3 separate regions of the Homo sapiens genome follow, and all the other regions are linked to region 3. The links are contacts of gene promoters, found by promoter capture Hi-C in human tissues and cell types (Jung and others, 2019). All regions are on one chromosome and are shown on one strand. The core of a region is centred on a gene start or on the middle of the fragment in contact, and the rest is flanking DNA. Distances in the headings are between cores, read along the strand shown.

Region 1 (2,700 bases), core at 134-2,633, 270 kb after region 3:
TAATTTATTTTTATATATTTTTTGAGACGGAGTCTCGCTCTGTCGCCCAGGCTGGAGGGCAGTGGCGCGATCGGGTTCCTGCCATTCTCCTGCCTCAGCCTCCCGAGTAGCTGGGACTACAGGCGCCCGCCACCACGCCCGGCTAATTTTTTTGTATTTTTAGTAGAGACGGGGTTTCACCGTGTTAGCCAGGATGGTCTCGATCTCCTGACCTCATGATCCTCCCACCTCAGCCTCCCAAAGTGCCGGGATTACATGCGTGAGCCACTGCACCCGGCCTATAACCCTGGTGGTTTTATGGCCGTCAAAGGGCAGCAGGCTTGACCCAGCCCCTATTCAGGACCCTCCCAATCTCAGGGACCACTGCTATCAGCCTCTGGGAGGTTGCCAGTGCGGGAGGCCCACCTTAAGGATGGTCACCTCAGGGCCTCTCTTGTAGGGGTTCTGTCCGAGAAGGCCTCTGAAGAAGGAAAGCACGTTGAGGGGGATGGCAGGGCAAGGTGCAGGCTGCAGGCTCTCCTGGAGTGGGGCAGCTCCCGGCCACCCCGGGCTCCCTCAGGAAGCAAGAGGCTGACTCGGAGGCGGCTTTAAAGTCAGGCTCTTCCAGTTGCTTTGCCTCTTTCATTTTTTCAGAATTTTTTTTTTTTTTGAGACGGAGTCTCGCTGTCACCCAGGCTGGAGTGCAGTGGCGCGATCTCGGCTCACTGCAAGCTCTGCCTCCCGGGTTCAAGCGATTCTCCTGCCTCAGCCTCCCGAGCAGTTGGGACTACAGGCGCCCGCCACCACCCCCGGCTAATTTTTTTTGTATTTTTAGTAGAGACAGGGTTTCACCGTGTTAGCCAGGATGGTCTGGATCTCCTGACCTCGTGATCCGCCCGCCTCAGCCTCCCAAAGTGCTGGGATTACAGGCGTGAGCCACCGCGCCTGGCCCATTTTTTCAGATTTTTGAACATCGGGTATTTTGCTAGGCTCTGGGTATGTGGGGGCTTACAATTTGGTTTAGGAGAAAATTTTAAGAGTGCTACCCATAAGCAGGTGCTATTTTCATAGTAGATAACAGGAACATTTTTATGAAATGTTGCAATACAATATGGCATTGCATAAAAACCGCAATAAAGTTCTGTGAGAATGAGGCCGCTGGTGGCTCACACCTGTAATCCCAGCACTTTGGGTGGATGAGGTGGGTGGATCACATGAAGTCAGGAGTTCGAGACTAGCCTGGCCAACATGTTGAAACCCTGTCTCTACTAAAAATACAAAAATTAGCCAGGCGTGGTGGCGGGAGCCTGTAACCCCAGCTACTTGGGAGGCTGAGGCAGGAGAATTGCTTGAACCTGGGAGGTGGAGGTTGCAGTGAGGCGAGATCAGCCTGGGAGACAGAGCCAGACTCCATCTCCATCTCCAAAAAAAACCACAACAACAACAAAAAACTGCTTTGCGAGAATGAGAGACGGAGCAAATCGTCTCCGGGCCATCCAGGAAGCCTTCAGGAAGCGATGTTTGTTCGGAGCGGGCGGTCCCACCTGAGCCTGCTCTAGCCTGACTGCCAAGCCCTGAAGGGCCCAGTGTAGGGCCAGGGCAGGAAGCTTGGTGGGGGCTGTGGTTGCTCCCCACCCCCTTCCCCTCTTCTCCCTTCCCCAGTGGAGCCCGCACAGTGCAGCGCTGCACATGCCCCAGGGATGCTGTGGCGAGGGGCTGCCGGCCGGGCTGGGCTGGATGGTGGGAATTCATTCTCTCCCCTTCTTCAGGCCCAGGGCTGGCTCTTCCTGAGGCCCCTCCCTCCTCCTGAGGTCTCCCTCCCTCCTCCTGAGACCCCCTCCCTCCTCCTGAGACCCCCTCCCTCCTCCTGAGGCCCCTCCCTCCTCCTGAGACCCCCTCCCTCCTCCTGAGGCCCCCTCCCTCCTCCTGAGACCCCCTCCCTCCTCCTGAGGCCCCCTCCCTCCTCCTGAGACCCCCTCCCTCCTCCTGAGGCCCCCTCCCTCCTCCTGAGACCCCCTCCCTCCTCCTGAGGCCCCCTCCCTCCTCCTGAGACCCCCTCCCTCCTCCTGAGGCCCCCTCCCTCCTCCTGAGACCCCCTCCTTCCTCCTGAGGCCCCTCCCTCCTCCTGAGACCCCCTCCCTCCTCCTGAGACCCCCTCCCTCCTCCTGAGACCCCTCCCTCCTCCTGAGGCCCCTCCATCCTCCTGAGGCCCCTCCCTCCTCCTGAGGTCTCCCTCCCTCCTCCTGAGACCCCCTCCCTCCTCCTGAGGCCCCCTCCCTCCTCCTGAGGCCCCTCCCTCCTCCTGAGGTCCCCCTCCTTGGCTGGCAGTGTCTTCTCCCCATGTCCTCACTGTCATGCTCCGGTGTGCCTGCGCCCTAATCTCCTCCTCTTATGAGGACACCAGACAGGTTGGCTCAGGGACCACGGGAATGACCTCACTGTACCTTAAGGACATCCTTATTTCTTTTTATTTTTGTTTGTTTTATTTTTTATTTTTTATTTTTATTTATTTATTTATTTTTTTTGAGACGGAGTCTCGCTCTGTCGCCCAGGCTGGAGTGCAGTGGCGGGATCTCGGCTCACTGCAAGCTCCGCCTCCCGGGTTCAGGCCATTCTCCTGCCTCAGCCTCCCGAGTAGCTGGGACTACAGGCACCTGCCACCACGCCCGGCTAATTTTTGTATTTTTAGTAGAGACAGGGTTTCACCGTTTTAGCCGGGAT
Region 2 (2,700 bases), core at 46-2,545, 280 kb after region 3:
GACTTTGACAGATGTTCTTGAGTGCAGGTTTCCGATAACTGGTGATGGTGACATCAGAATAGAGGAAAAAACTTTTAGAATTCTTATGGAGAGCTGAAATGTCCATGAATATCAAACAGAAGTTAACTACATGGACTAAACTAATAGAAACCAGAAGTAATCTTTTTAACTTTTTGCTTAAAATATTGCTGATCCTTTGTTTTGTTTTTCAGAATCAAGGAAACTTTTGAGCGAGTTATAGCTTTTAACAATTGAATAAGTATACTTGTATGAATAAAATTTGGAGCATATTTGTTTCTCTCTACCTAATTTCTCCAAAATTTGGGAACTAGTTGTGAGTATTCTTAATTTATGGCAATATAGCTATTTGCATAAGTGCAATAAGAATCTGTTTTCTTTTTTTTTTTTTTTTTTGAGACAGAGTCTTGCTCTGTTGCCCAGGCTGGAGTGCAATGGTATGATCTCGGCTCACTGCAACCTCCGCCTCCCAGGTTCAAGCAATTCTCCTGTCTCTGCCTCCCAAGTAGCTGGGATTACAGGTGCCAGCCACCACACCTGGCTAATTTTTGTATTTGTAGTAGAGATGAGGTTTCACCATGTTGGCCAGGCTGGTCTTGAACTCTTGACCTCAGGTGGTCTGCCTGCCTCGGCCTCCCAAAGCGCTGGGATTACAGGTGTGAGCCACTGTGCCTGGCCAGGAATCTGTTTTCTTTTGCAACAGGACACAATTGGAGAAACTGCTTATTTTACCAAGGATTTGACTAGAATGATGTGTTTTCCTTTAAGAAATTAAACGTGACTTATAGAGCTGATAAAGCCCCTTGGGAAAACTGACCTGATACGTTCTCTCCACAGTCCTTATACAGAGTTCCTGACCCGTGGTAAGTAAAGAATGTCACTTTATGCTGGGTGCGGTGGCTCATGCCTGTAATCCCAGCACTTTGAGAGGCTGAGGCGGGTGGATCATGAGGTCAGGAGATTGAGACCATCTTGGCTAAGATGGTGAAACCCTGTCTCTACTAAAAATACAAAAAATTAGCGGGGCATGGTGGCGGGCACCTGTAGTCCCACCTATTCAGGAGGCTGAGGCAGGAGAATGGCATGAACCCGGGGGGGCGGAGCTTGCAGTGAGCAGAGATCATGCCACTGCACTCCAGCCTGGGCAACAGAGCGAGATTCGGTCTCAAAAAAAAAAAAAGTCACTTTCTCACAGGCCCAGGAGCCCCAAGTTATCTTGGAAACTCAAGAGGAGAGAAATTTACTCAACTTACAGGTATTTGAGGGTACAAACCCATGGCGGGGCTCAGTTCTAAAAGAGTCTTAGCTAAGATTCCTTCTACGGAACAGAGTTCCATCAAAGCCAATTTAAAAAGAACCTATGTGAAAAATATTCTTGCTGCCCTTTATACAAATAATCAGGCCAAGTATAATAAAGTAAATCAGTCTTACCATGATTTGCCTTTAGTAAAAATGGGAAACTAGAGAGAGAAATATTATGTTTCAGGAACTGTGGTATGTTGTTTTTAAATTCTAGTCTCATCAGTTGTTTTTAGATTTGCTTCTGGAATTTAGGCTAACCTTGCTTATTCCTGTGAACCAACCAGTGAACTCTGACTGCTGCTCAGAAGAAATAAGAGGGATGGGTAATGTAAAAATCTGAATCAATATTCTAATTCTGGGCACACTAGAATTGGCTAGCAACCTCACATCATCTTGGTTCCAATAGTTGCCCAGTTCATGAAAAGCCTTCTAATTTAGTTTACTTGGAATAATTGTACTTATTTTGCTTTACTATTGTGGAATATATTGTTGTTGTACTCTGTGTAGGTATGCAAAATAAACTTGCTCAATGTTTTCTTAAACTGAACACTTATTAATTGCCCAGATATCACCTTTTGTTGGAACTTAAGAGTTATGAATAGCCCTCACCACACTGATGCCTTCTGACTGTGCTCCTCTCTACCCTGAACACAAGGGACCCTAATAGTTAGGCAGGAATGTCATCGCCCCTATTCAGCCTGAAGAAGTTACAGAAGATGGATCTTCATCCCCCTGCAACTCTTAGGATTAAGGGTTCTCTTATAAAAGGGAAAGAGAAAATGTCAGGCATGTTTGAACCAGAGCAACTCCATCTTGAGTAGGAGCTGGGTAAAATGAGGCTGAGACCTATTGGACGGCATTCCCAGGAAGTGAGACATTCTAAGTCACAGGATGAGATAGGAGATTGGCACAAGATATAGATCATAAAGACCTTGCTGATAAGACAGGTTGCAGCAAAGAAGCCGGCCAAACCCACCAAAACCAAAATGGCCACAAGAGTGACCTCTGGTCATCCTCACTGCTACACTCCCACCAGCTCCGTGACAGTTTACAGATGCCATGGCAACGTCAGGAAGTTACCCTATATGGTCTAAAAAGGGGAGCATGAATAATCCACCCCTTGTTTAGCATATCATCAAGAAATCACCATAAAAATGGGCAACCAGCAGCCCTCAGCTGCTCGCCTATGGAGTAGCCATTCTTTATTTCTTTATTTTCTTAATAAACTGGTTTCACTTGTCTCTATGGACTCGCTCTGAATTCTTTCTTGCGCGAGATCCAAGAACGCCCTCTGGGGGTCTGGATCGGGACCCCTGTCTGGTAACAACTGCAGATATCTCCCTCCAACACATTGAGCTGTGTGTTGATGTCTTGGAACTT
Region 3 (2,700 bases), core at 103-2,602:
CGATATCATGGAGGGGCACAGATGGGCTTCAGCTGTGCTGGGTGGAAGAGAAAACATGCCCTGTCGGCCCCTCAGCAAGTGCTCTGCTCTCTGGACTGAGATGCAGGTCAGCAGCAAGCAGGGAGGCTTTGGGGGTGCTGGGGGCTGCTTTGAAAGGCACCCCTGAGCTAAGACTTGGCTGTTGGGAAGGAATCACCTCCCTCCCTCCAGCCGTAAAAAGAACTGGACATCAGCTTCCAAAGAAGTCATCAGCAATGCAACTGTTCACATGGAGGATACTCCCTGCTTGAGGGGTCAGACAGGCCTGCTGGGCAACCCAGGAGGCTTGGATGACCGTCTACCCCAGTGTTTTTGGGATGGAAAGTTCCACATTCTGAGAACCCTCAGTCCCTGGGCAACCTGGGGTGGTTAGTCACCACAGCTTGTGGCTTGGGCCCATGACAGCAGGTAGAAATGACGTGGACTGCCGCCAGCCGGGCACAGTGGCTCACGCCTGTAATCCCAGCACTTTGGGAGGCTGAGGCATGTGGATCACTTGAGGTCAGGAGTTCGAAACCAGCCTGGTCAACACGGTGAAACCCCATCTCTGCTAAAAAAAAAAAATATATATATATAAATTAGCCAGGCATGGTGACGTGCACCTGTGGTCCCAGCTACTCAGGAGGCTGAGGCACAAGAATCACTTGAACCCGGGAGGTGGAGGTTGCAGTGAGATTGCACCAGTGCACTCTCCAGCCTGGCAACAGAGCAAGACTCTGTCTCAAACAAACAAAACAAAACAAACAAAAAGACGTAAGATGTGGACCGCTGGAGAATGGGGGTGCTGCCTGCAGTCAAAACGGAGTGGGGGTGCCCAGCTCAGGGCCAGAATGATCCTATTCCCGGCACTTCTCAGTGAGGCTCTGTGGCTCACCTAAGAAACCAGCCTCCCTTGCAGGCAACGGCCTAGCTGGCCTGGTCTGGAGGCTCTCTTCAAATATTTACATCCACACCCAAGATACAGTCTTGAGATTTGACTCGCATGATTGCTATGGGACAAGTTTTCATCTGCAGTTTAAATCTGTTTCCCAACTTACATTAGGGGTTTGGAATTCTAGATCGTATTTGAAGTGTTGGTGCCACACACACCTTAACACCTGCACGCTGGCAACAAAACCGTCCGCTCTGCAGCACAGCTGGGGTCACCTGACCTTTCTCCTGTCCCCCCCACTTGAGCTCAGTGGCTGGGCAGCAGGGGATGCATGGCCACTGGCCGGCCAGGTGCAGCTCTCAGCTGGGGTGTTCAGAGGACGCCTGTGTCCTCCCCTCCCCCATCCCTCTGTCACCCTTGGAGGCAGAGAACTTTGCCCGTCAGTCCCATGGGGAATGTCAACAGGCAGGGGCAGCACTGCAGAGATTTCATCATGGTCTCCCAGGCCCTCAGGCTCCTCTGCCTTCTGCTTGGGCTTCAGGGCTGCCTGGCTGCAGGTGCGTCCGGGGAGGTTTTCTCCATAAACTTGGTGGAAGGGCAGTGGGCAAATCCAGGAGCCAGCCCGGGCTTCCCAAACCCCGCCCTTGCTCCGGACACCCCCATCCACCAGGAGGGTTTTCTGGCGGCTCCTGTTCAATTTCTTTCCTTCTAGAAACCAGCATCCAGGCACAGGAGGGGAGGCCCTTCTTGGTGGCCCAGGCTTTGGCGGGATTATTTTTCAAAGAACTTTAGGAGTGGGTGGTGCTTTCCTGGCCCCCATGGGCCCCTGCCTGTGAGGTCGGACAAGCGCAGGGAGTCTGGGGCCTCTCAGAGTGCAGGAAGTGCGCACAGGGTGCTCCCAGGCTGGGGAGCACAGGTAGGGGACGGTGCGTGGGGGATGGCGCCTGGGGCATGGGGGATGGGGTGTGGGAAACGGCATGTGGGGCGTAGGGGATGGGGTGTGGAGGATCGGGGGTGGGGATGGCGTGTGGGGTGTGGGGGATGGGCCGTGGGGGGGTGGGGCCTGGGAAACAGCATGTGGGGCATGGGGTGTGGGGGTGAGGTGTGGGAAAGTGTGTGGGGTGTGGGGGATGGGGCATGGAAAGGGCGTGTGGGGTGCAGGGGATGGGGCATGGAGGTGTGGGGGATGGGGTGTGTGGGGTGTCGGGGATGGGGCATGTGGGGTGTGGGGGATGGGGCATGGAAAGGGCGTGTGGGGTGCAGAGGATGGGGCATGGGGGGGTGGGGATGGCGAGTGGGGCTGGGGCCTGGGAATGGTGAGTGGGGCATGGGGATGGCGAGTAGGGGGTGTGGCGTGAGGATGGCTAGTGGGGCGTGGGGATGGCGTGTGGGGATGGCGAGTGGGGGGTGGGCTGTGAGGGACAGTGCCTGGGATGTGGGGCTGCAGCCCTAGCTCACAGCATGGCCTTATGACCCCGGCCACCTTCCTGCCCCAGGCGGGGTCGCTAAGGCCTCAGGAGGAGAAACACGGGACATGCCGTGGAAGCCGGGGCCTCACAGAGGTGAGCAGGGACTGCCACTGGTTTTGTCCTGGGGCCCAGTGGGGGCCAACATCACCTCCTTCCCCTCCCATGGCAAAGAGCCAGCCCGCGGGGTGGCTACTGCAGTGCCCCCCAAGGAGGGTGTTCCCTGCTCGAGAGGAAGTGACCGCTCCAGCTTGGCCTTCCCTGGGACTGGGGTGCAGGCGATTTTATCTTCTTTGCTCCATTCTGTTCCTTCCAGATAATCGT

The links. The method cuts DNA at HindIII sites, captures the fragments that hold promoters and counts their contacts. A contact is called where the count stands out against the background at its distance.
Region 1: a fragment that was not itself captured here is called in contact with the fragment with the promoter of F7 in region 3 in 3 of the 25 tissues and cell types used here (dorsolateral prefrontal cortex, heart right ventricle and spleen).
Region 2: a fragment that was not itself captured here is called in contact with the fragment with the promoter of F7 in region 3 in 2 of the 25 tissues and cell types used here (heart left ventricle and lymphoblastoid cells).

Annotation. Positions count from the first base shown.
Region 1 is chr13:113,369,628-113,372,327 of GRCh38, forward strand. No RefSeq gene overlaps it. Among named protein-coding and RNA genes, the nearest start is that of GRTP1, 6.8 kb to the left of the region's middle. The HindIII fragment of the contact is 8,985 bases long and covers 1-2,700 here.
Region 2 is chr13:113,388,664-113,391,363 of GRCh38, forward strand. No RefSeq gene overlaps it. Among named protein-coding and RNA genes, the nearest start is that of GRTP1, 26 kb to the left of the region's middle. The HindIII fragment of the contact is 4,940 bases long and covers 1-2,700 here.
Region 3 is chr13:113,104,439-113,107,138 of GRCh38, forward strand. F7 (coagulation factor VII) reads left to right here and starts at 1,353. Exons shown (of 8, transcript NM_019616.4): 1 at 1,353-1,467. The coding sequence starts at 1,404. The HindIII fragment of the contact is 23,631 bases long and covers 1-2,700 here.